Linked DNA regions of Homo sapiens: regions 1 and 2 are each linked to region 3. The links are contacts of gene promoters, found by promoter capture Hi-C in human tissues and cell types (Jung and others, 2019). All regions are on one chromosome and are shown on one strand. Each heading gives the region's core, a stretch centred on a gene start or on the middle of the fragment in contact. The rest is flanking DNA. Distances are from core to core; before and after follow the strand shown.

Region 1 (2,946 bases), core at 202-2,701, 630 kb after region 3:
TGGGGCTCAGGTTCCTTATCTGTAAAATAAGGACAATGACAGCAGGACTTCATAAACACTAAATGAGAGACTCTACATAAAGCCTTAGCTCAGGGGCTGGCACTTGTACGCCGTTAGCTGTTACATTATCCTTATTACTATGTTAGTTAAGAAGTGGCTCCCCGAACCAGCTGCAACAGAGTCACTTGGGGAACTTACGTGTGCAGAACCTCCAGGGATAGAGCTCAAGAACCTGAACTTTTTTTTTCCCCCTCTTTTTCTTTTTGAGAGAGTTTTGCCCTGTCGCCCAGACTGGAGTGCAGTGGCACAATCTTGGTTCACTGCAGCCTCTGCCTCCTGGGTTCAAGCGATACTGGCGCCTCAACTTCCCAAGCAGCTGGGATTACAGGTGTGTGCCACCATGCCTGGCTAACATATGTATATATTATGTGTGTGTGTGTGTATATATATATATAAAATACATGATATATAAAAATATATATAACATAATAATATGTAGTATACATAAATGTATACGGTATATATAATACATATATATAATTTTTTTTTTGAGACGCAGTCTCACCCTGTCGCCCAGGCTAGAGTGCACTGGCGGATCTCGGCTCATTGCAACCTCTGTCTCGCGGGTTCAAGCGTCTGTCCTGCCTCAGCCTCCCGGGTAGCTTGGACTACAGGCGCGCACCACCCCACCCGGCTAATTTTTTAAATTTTTTGGTGGAGACCGGGTTTCATCATGTTGGCCAGGCTGGTCTCGAACTCCTGACCTCGTGATCCGCCGCCTCGGCCTCCCAGAGTGCTGGGATTACAGGCGTGAGCCACCGCGCCCAGCCAAACCTGCACTTTTAAAGCTACCCTAGGTGACCTGACAGTGTGGCGCAGGTCTGTTGACTGGCTCTACGTGCCAACGATATCACACAAACGCTCCGTGCTCGGTGTCTCGGGGCCTAGTTCAAGTCCCAGGTCAGCCACTTCCCTGGAAAGGCCAGCTTTCCACTGGGGATAACAACAGGGCAGCAACATCGACTCTGCAGCGCTGTAAGGTTCCAGGGCAGGGGAGGCGCTCACCAGCCAGACTCATGCTCCACCGCTGCCCACGGCTGCTCGCTCACACGCGGGCTAGGCACAGCGCGACCACGTTTGCCCGGCCTCTTCCAGGCAGACGGTTTTCCCTGGCCCTGAGGCCGCCGGTGCCGCCGCTGCCGGCCTCGATTCCCCCGGGTGCAACGCCCCCAGACCATGCTTCCCGCCGGGCACGCAGGGGGCGCACGGCGCCCGCCGCCCAGCCCGGAGCTCGCCGCCCGGCCCCCGGCCCCCGGCCCGACTCGGCTTCCCCTCCCCGGTAGCGCCCGACTCGGGGCTCACCATGGCAGCCGCTCTGCCTCCGGGGCTCAAACTCCGACTTCCTGGCCCCGCGGCCGGGGATCAAGCGTGGTCGGCGGGTCAGAGGTCAAGGAAAGCCGCAGAGAGCGCGTGCGCGATACGGCGCTGGGCATGCGCATTGCCTCAGTCTAAGGGCGGGCCACCGGGAGCGTCTTAGCGGCTCGGGGCGGGGTCGGAGGCGGGGTTTGACTGAGCCTGCGTCGGGCTCTGGATAACTGGGGGCGGGCTTGGGAGGGCAAGGGGCGTTACCGGGAGTCTCAATTGCCCGCGTGCTTACCCCAGTGCGCTGGAGCAGCTAAGCACATCGGTCAGACGTGGGGCGATTTCTGCCCTTGATTTTGCCAAAATATTTGGGAATGCAACATTATATGAAATCAATGAACATAATATGGAGTAGGATGCTAAATTCTCAAAAATACTTTAGAAAATAGAAAACTTCAAAATAGGTTTCATCCACATTCCTCCTGCCTGAGAAGCTCGTTCCCTTCTTCAAATCTTTGCTCAAATGTCACCTCAATGAGGCCCACCTGGACCCCTTAAAACGCCGTGACTTGCCCTCCATGAATGAAAAAAGTAACAGCTTTATTGAGATATAATCCATACACTGTAGATTTCATGATTTTCAAGTGCACAGTCCAATGCCTTTTATTCACAGAGCTGTGCCACTGTCACCACTATTAGTTCCAGAACGTTTTCATCACCCATTAGTCACTCCCCAGCCCCCTCCCCCAGCCCCTGTCAACCACTCATTTTTCTCTCTATGGATTCACAGGTTCCGGACATTTCATAGAAATGGAATCATACAAGCCAGGCGTGGTGGCTCATGCCTGCAATCTCAAAACTTTGGGAGGCCGAGGTGGATCGCTTGAGGTCAGGAACTCAAGGCCAGGCTGGGCAACATGGTGAAACCCCATCTCTACAAATACAAAAATTAGCCGGGTGTGGTGGCAGGTGCCTGTAATCCCAGCTACTTGGGAGGCTGAGTGGTGGATCTCTTGAGCCCGGGAGGTACAGGCTGCAGTGAGCTGTGATCACTGCACTCCAGCCTGGGTGACAGAGTCAGGCCCTGCCTCAAAAAAAAAAAAAAAAAAAAAAAAGGTAAAAATGAAAAATGAAAAAAAAGAAGAAATTGAATCATACAATGTGCAGCCTTTTGTGACTGGCTTATCCTCCCTTCTTGTCTCTATTTTTCTTCCAAGACTCTGATCACCCTCTACCATACCACATAATTTACTTATTTATTTTATTTATCATTTTGAGACAGGGTCTCACCCTGTCGCCCAGGCTGGAGTCCAGTGGCACAATCCTGCCTCACTGCAACCTCCACCTCCCAGGTTCAGGCGATGCTCATGCTTTAGCCTCCTGAGTAGCTGGGATTACAGGCATGGACCACCATGCCCCATTAATTTTTGAATTTTTAGTAGAGACAGGGTTTCACCATGTTGGCCAGGCTGGTCTTGAACTACTGGTCTCAAATGATCCACCCGCCACAGCCTCCCAAAGTGCTGGGATTATAGGCATGTGACACTGTGCCCAACCGGTTTTTTATTTTTAAATTATTTTTCC
Region 2 (3,025 bases), core at 433-2,932, 700 kb after region 3:
TGTAGTGGCACAATCTCGGCTCACTGCAACCTCCACTTCCTCGGCTCAAGAGATCCTCCAACCTCAGCCTCCCAAGTAGCTGGGACCACGGGAGTGAGTCACCACACCTGGCTAATTTTTTTTTCTTTAACTTGTTGTTCAGAGGGGTTTCGCAATGTTGCCCAGGCTGGTCTCGAACTCCTGAGCTCAAAGCAGTCCACCCAAAGTACTGGGATTACCGTGAGTCATGGTATCCAGCCCCTCCCCCTAACTTTTCAATGGCTCTGCACTGCAATCAGAATAAAACCCAACTTCTTCCGGTGGCCCTTGGGTTCTGCAGGACCACTCTGGACTCATCTGTCACCATACTGCTCCGGCCATCCCCTCCATCCACTCATGCTCACTTTCCATTTCTCCACCAGGCTCTTTCTCAATTCTCACCCTTCTGGCCTCAGCTAAAATGCCATCTACTCCAGGCAGCCTTTCCTGACCACGCTACTGAGACTGGCCCCCTCCATTCTCCATCCCAGTCCCTCATGTGTGTTCTTCAATGTCGTTATGAAAACCTCCAATGCTCTTGTTTGTCTGCTTGCTGTCTCCCTCATGAGGCTACAAGTGCCACAGGGGAAGGAAAATGCCGTTGTGTTCACCGGGATGTCTCCAGCAGCTTAGCACAGCATAAAGTGGAAGCAGAGGAAATATAGTCCACACTACAAAAACGGAACCTCTACCCAGACTGCCCTGACTTGCTCTGGGACCCTGATGGGGTCACTTGAGGTCAACTCCTAGGCCCAGTTATCGGAGGACACTCCCAGGCCTTACAAATAACACGGAAAGCGGAAGAGCAGAGCTGACATCGTTTCCAAGGCGCACCCCTCATCAGTCCTCCTGCCGTTTCGGGGGTCCGAAGGGTCTCCCGGCACCTGGCTCAGCAATTCTTTGGGGCTCCACCTGCTCAGGCTTCCCCAGGCCCCACCCAGCCGTGGCAGCATCACCGAGATAAAGAAAGAGCTTGCGCCAGCGGCGAGAGGAGGAAGCACCGGCGGAAACCCGAGGGAGGGGCGCGTGCGGCCGAGGGGCTCCCTCCCCACCACTGACACACTTGGGCTCGCCGGGGCCAGAGGAGAGAGGGGCGTCTCCCCACAGCCCAGCCAGGGGCAGGGGCGACCCGGGGCGGCAGGGAGGAGGAGCCAGGCGCCGGCAGCGCCCCGAGCCCCGGCTCCCGGCGAGGCCGACCGGAAGCTGGGAAGGCAGGCGGCCTCGCAGGCCTGGGCCCCGGCTAGGAGGGCTGCGCCGCCTCGGGGGTCCCGGGGCGAGGTGGGCGAGGCGGGCAGACCGCCAGGGTCACCGAGCGCCAGAGCGAGTCACGGGAGTGCCGGACTCTGCCCTCCGGCGGCGACGAAACGGCCCGGACGCCGGGGCCCTGGCCTGAAGGGGGGTTCCCCGGGGATGGAGGTCTCGGGGTTCCAGACGGCCCTGGAGGGCACCCCTGTGGGGTCCGGGCAGGGGGAGGGGCAGCCGGACGGGGCCCGAGGCGACAGCGCCCGGTCCTCGGGCCGGACTCACCTCGCGGCGGGGCGGCCGAGCCTCGGTGTGCCGGAACTTGGACACCCTGAAGCGGTTCATGGCGACGGGCACGGCGGCGGACGCGTCTTCGAGGACCCCGGGCGTCGGGTCTCAGGTGCACGCTGAGCAACCGCGACTCCCGCTGCCTCGGCCCCACCCGGGACCCAATGCCGCGGTCACGCCCCCGGCGCGCCCCACTGCCAATCGCAGCCGTCTCCGGCCCCCTGGGCCACGCCCCCAAGCCCCTCTCCTTTCGCGCGCGCACCACCGGTCCCGCCTCCCGGCCAATCCAGGTACGGCCGCCCCGCGAGGCCACGCCCTGATACCGAGGGGACGGACTGGCGCGGGTGGGAGGTCACGTGGGGCGCAGCTGTCAGCCCACGTCTCCTGCGGTGCTTGCTTGCGTGGGGTCTCGGCTGCAGCATTCGCGATTTTGTGTGCAGGATTTGCTGTGGAGTCTTTGCGGTGTACCTAGCACGCCTTCCAGCACTATCTACCTCTTCCTGTAGAGAGGGGAGAAATTAGCTCCATTTCAGAGACAGGAAACCCCCGGCTAAAGGAGAGTGTAAACTGTCGGTCCCCAGGTCACACCAGTGGTAAGAGGCAGAGGGGGAACAGGGGCCCAGGTCTAAAGCAAATCCCTGTCCACCGGGCCTACTCAAAAGCCTCTGCATCCGGCCAGGCGCTCTGCATCCGGCCAGGCGCGGTGGCTCAGGTCTGTAATCCCGAACTTTGGGAGACTGAGGCAGGAGTATCCCTTGAGCCCAAGAGGTCGAGGCTGCAGTTATCTGTGACCGTGCCACTGCACTCCAGCCTGGGAGACAGAAAGAGACCCTGCCTCTAAAAATAATAATAATAATAGCTTTTAATTTTTCTTTAGTATTTATTCATTTATTTGACACGGAGTCCCTGTCACCCAGGCTGGAGTGCAGTGGCGCGATCTCAGCTCACTGCACCCTCTGCCTCGCGGGTTCAAGCAATTCTCTTGCCTCAGCCTCCCGAATAGCTGGGATTACAGGCGCCTGCCACCGCGCCCAACTAATTTTTTATTTTTAGTAAGAGACGGGGTTTCACCATGATGGTCAGGCTGGTCTCGAACGAGACTCAAGCAGTCCTCCCAACTTGGCCTGCCAAAGTGTGGGGATTATAGGAATGAGCCAACGCACCCAGCTGATTCTTGCATTTCTAAGGTTTGAAAAGCAATGCTTACATTTTATCTTAGTTCGGGCAGAAGTGTATTTACTGTGAACCAAAGTCACTTGTGGTTTATTGAAAAGGCTTTTTGTTTGTTTGTTTTGAGACAGAGTCTCACTCTGTTGCCCAGGCTGGAGTGCAGTGGTGTCATCTCAGCTCACTGCAACCTCCACCTCCTGAGTTCAAGCGATTCTCCTGCTTCAGCCTCCCAAGCAGCTGGGATTACAGGTGTGCGCCACTACTCCTAATTTTTGTATTTTTAGTAGAGATGGGATTTTGCCATGTT
Region 3 (3,081 bases), core at 159-2,658:
GTGCTAGGATTACAGGCGTGAGCCACCGCGCCCGGCCACAAGGTATCTTTTATAGACCACTGGTTTTGAAAAGACATAAGATTCAGCGTTGAAGAAAATACCTTTGGAATAGGCAGTCTTGATGCCTGCTAAAGGGGATATAAATTGATAAGGCCTTTTTGGACAATTTGGCAGTATCTGCTAACATTTCAAAAATGCATAGGCTCTGAAATATCAATTCTAAAATTCTAATTATGTAAGGCTAAAGAAATACCGCACGTGAACAAATATTTAAGTACTCACCCATTCTATGCAGCATTGTAATAAAAAGTAAAACCTGAAATAACCTTTATTGCGTCCACTAATAGGACAATGTTTAAACAAATGACACGTCCATCATACAGAATACTGTGTGGTCACTGGAAGGCACATGGACCTGTATACACTGACATGAAAAGATGTGGAAAGAATGCTGGGAGCGTTAAAATTTTCTGAAGTACAACGTAGCACAATGCATACATGGTTTAGGCTTTTTAGAATAAAAAATACTTATACGCAGACATTTATATTTACACGTATAACACTGTGTACAGCCCCGAAGCAATGCCGAAACTTTCACTGTTGTTACCTCCGAGTGGGGACTGGGAAAGCAGAGGTTAGGGTCGTTCTCTCTGTTTTACAAACATTTATTGGCGCATCCATCAATTCCAGGCCCCGAGGACACAGCTGCGTCAACGACATCGAGTCCACCTGCTCTGGGGACCCGGATGACTGCTATAGGTTTTGTTCACTGTGGCGTCCCCAGAACCTGCACGGCGCCGGGCACTGAGCGGGCGCTCACATGTGCGTCCAATGAACGAATTAACAAATGAACCCTCAGTGCGCTACTGGGAGGCGGGGAGGGGTAAAGCACGATCCATGGAACTAGCACGATCACCCCGAGTGAGTCCATTCCCCGCAACATGCACCCGCAAAGACTCCGCGCTCCGCAGCGGCTCCACCTGCACGTGCGCTACCTGACTGGACCGAAGCTCCAGGAGGGACGACCCCGCAGCCGCTCCGCCCGACCCCGCGACCCCCCAAGACCCAGCCTCCTTCAGGGCTCCCATGGGCGGGTGGCGAGGGGAGTCCAGCCGAGGAAAAGGCAGCCAAGCTGGAGCTGGCGAGGAGCGGAGCGAAAGTAAACGCGTCTGCCGCGCTTGGCCTCGCCGGACCTCCCACGCCTGTGAAGCAGGTGCCGGCGCCTCGCTCCCCGGAGCACAGGGACGTCCCTGCCGTCTCCGTGGCCCGGCCCGCCCGCTGCCCGTCCAGCCAGGACGCCCTCACCTCCCGGCACGGCCGCCAGCGCCGGCGCCCGCAGCAAAGGCCGCAGGCGGCGGCCCCACAGCAGCAGCGCCCGCAGCTCGCGCGCCATGTCGTACTCCCAGAGCGCCGCGCGCAGCCACGCGGGACCGTACACGATGGGAAGGGGCGGGACGGGGCTGCGCGGGGCGGGGCTTCCTCGGGCGCGGGGCGGTGACGTCACGGCGGGCGCCGGGCTGTCCGGGCAGCTGCCTGCTCGGGCGCGTGGCGGGGTACTACCCGTCTCGTGGACGGTCGGGCCTGGGGGTGGGACCTCCGTGACCTTGGATCGCGTTGTCAAGGGCGACGGGCCTTGCGCGCGGAGGTGGGGGAGGTGGCCCCGCCGCCCCCGGCCCACGCTGGCCGGCTGCGCCTAGCTGTGCGCATTCCTGGAATGGGGCGGATGTCAGTATCCACGCGAGGGTGTGGAGGCGACGCTGGGGAAGAAGCAGTTCCCGTGTCTGCGACCTTTGTGAATCCCGGCCATCCGTCTAGGCCGCTGCAAGTCTCTTGCAAACCAAGACTGGACAAAAAGCTAAAGCGAATGAGGAAGGGGATTCCAGGCTTGACTGGCTACTACTCCAAAACCTGAACCCAGTGACCAATACCACCAGGAAAACTGCGGTTATTCGTTTATTCCACTTCTCTTGTCCTTGTCGAGAAGAGTCAAACTCTAAAGTATTTAGAAGGTTATTCTGAGCCAAATATGAGTGTGCATGGAGGGAGGCACAGTCTCAAAAGGTCCTGAGAACTTGGCCCAAGGTGCTTGGGTTACAGCTTGCTTGGTTTTATACATTTTAGAGAGACATAAGACATCAGTCAATGCATGTAAGACATAGGTTGGTTCCGTGTGGAAAGGCAGGACAACTCAAAGGGTGAAATACTTAGAGGTCATAGGTGGATTCAGATACTTTCTGATTGGCAATTGGTTAAAAGAGTTGAGTTCTGGTTGGGCGCGGTGGCTCACGCCTGTAATCCTAGCACTTTGGGAGGCTGAGGTGGGCGGACTGCCTGCGGTCAGGAGTCCGAGACCAGCCTGGCCAACATGGTGAAAACCCATCATCTCTACTAAGATACAAAAAATTAGCTGGGCAAGGTGGCACGTGCCTGTAGTCCCAGCTCCTGGGGAGGCTGAGGCGGAAGAATAGCGTGAACCCGGGAGGCTGCGGTTGCAGTGAGCCGAGATCGTGCCACTTGCACTGCAGCCTGGGCGACAGAGCTGTGACTCCGTCTCAAAAAAAAAAAAAAAAGAAAACAAAAAAAAGAAAAAAAAGAGTTGAGTTATACAGACCTGGAATCAATAAAAAGAGTGTCTGGGTGAAGATAAGGGGTTGTGGGCACGAGCACGGTGACTCACACCTGTAATCCCAACACTTTGGGATGCCGAGGTGGGCGAATTGCTTGAGGTCAGGAGTTGGAGAGCAGCGTGGGCAACATGGTGAGACCCTGTCTGTACCAAACATACCTGTACCGGATGTGGTGGCGGAGGCCTGTAATCCCAGCTACAAGGGAGGCTGAGGTGGGTGGATTGCTTAAGCCCAGGAGGGAGAGGTTGCAGTGAGCCAAGTTCGTGCCATTGAACTCCAGCTTGGGCAAGAGAGCCACACCCTGTCTCAAAACAAACAAACAAACAAACAAACAAAAAACAGGTTGTGAAGACCAAGGTTCTTATTATGTAGAGGAAGTCTCATAGATGACCACCCTTACAGGTAATAGATGGCAAATGTTTTCGCAAATATTGTTTATTCAGACCGTTAAAAA

Evidence for each region. Contacts are between HindIII fragments. The study calls those that stand out against the background at their distance.
Region 1: the fragment with the promoter of PAM16 here is called in contact with the fragment with the promoter of TRAP1 in region 3 in 6 of the 25 tissues and cell types used here (dorsolateral prefrontal cortex, heart left ventricle, heart right ventricle and 3 more).
Region 2: a contact is called between the fragment with the promoter of CORO7 here and the fragment with the promoter of TRAP1 in region 3, in 1 of the 25 tissues and cell types used here (dorsolateral prefrontal cortex).

The regions. Positions count from the first base shown.
Region 1 is chr16:4,349,870-4,352,815 of GRCh38, forward strand. It overlaps PAM16 (presequence translocase associated motor 16), which reads right to left and starts at 1,452. Exons shown (of 5, transcript NM_016069.11): 1 at 1,363-1,452. The coding sequence starts at 1,365. All of the region lies in intron 27 of CORO7-PAM16 (CORO7-PAM16 readthrough), which reads right to left. The HindIII fragment of the contact is 27,496 bases long and covers 1-2,946 here.
Region 2 is chr16:4,414,914-4,417,938 of GRCh38, forward strand. CORO7 (coronin 7) reads right to left here and starts at 1,683. Exons shown (of 28, transcript NM_024535.5): 1 at 1,546-1,683. The coding sequence starts at 1,605. It overlaps CORO7-PAM16 (CORO7-PAM16 readthrough), which reads right to left and starts at 1,683. Exons shown (of 31, transcript NM_001201479.2): 1 at 1,546-1,683. The coding sequence starts at 1,605. It overlaps LOC124903635 (a long non-coding RNA gene), which reads right to left. Exons shown (of 3, transcript XR_007064963.1): 3 at 1,812-2,048. The HindIII fragment of the contact is 38,450 bases long and covers 1-3,025 here.
Region 3 is chr16:3,716,116-3,719,196 of GRCh38, forward strand. TRAP1 (TNF receptor associated protein 1) reads right to left here and starts at 1,409. Exons shown (of 18, transcript NM_016292.3): 1 at 1,306-1,409. The coding sequence starts at 1,393. RefSeq lists silencers at 1,010-1,129, 1,150-1,759. The HindIII fragment of the contact is 28,184 bases long and covers 1-3,081 here.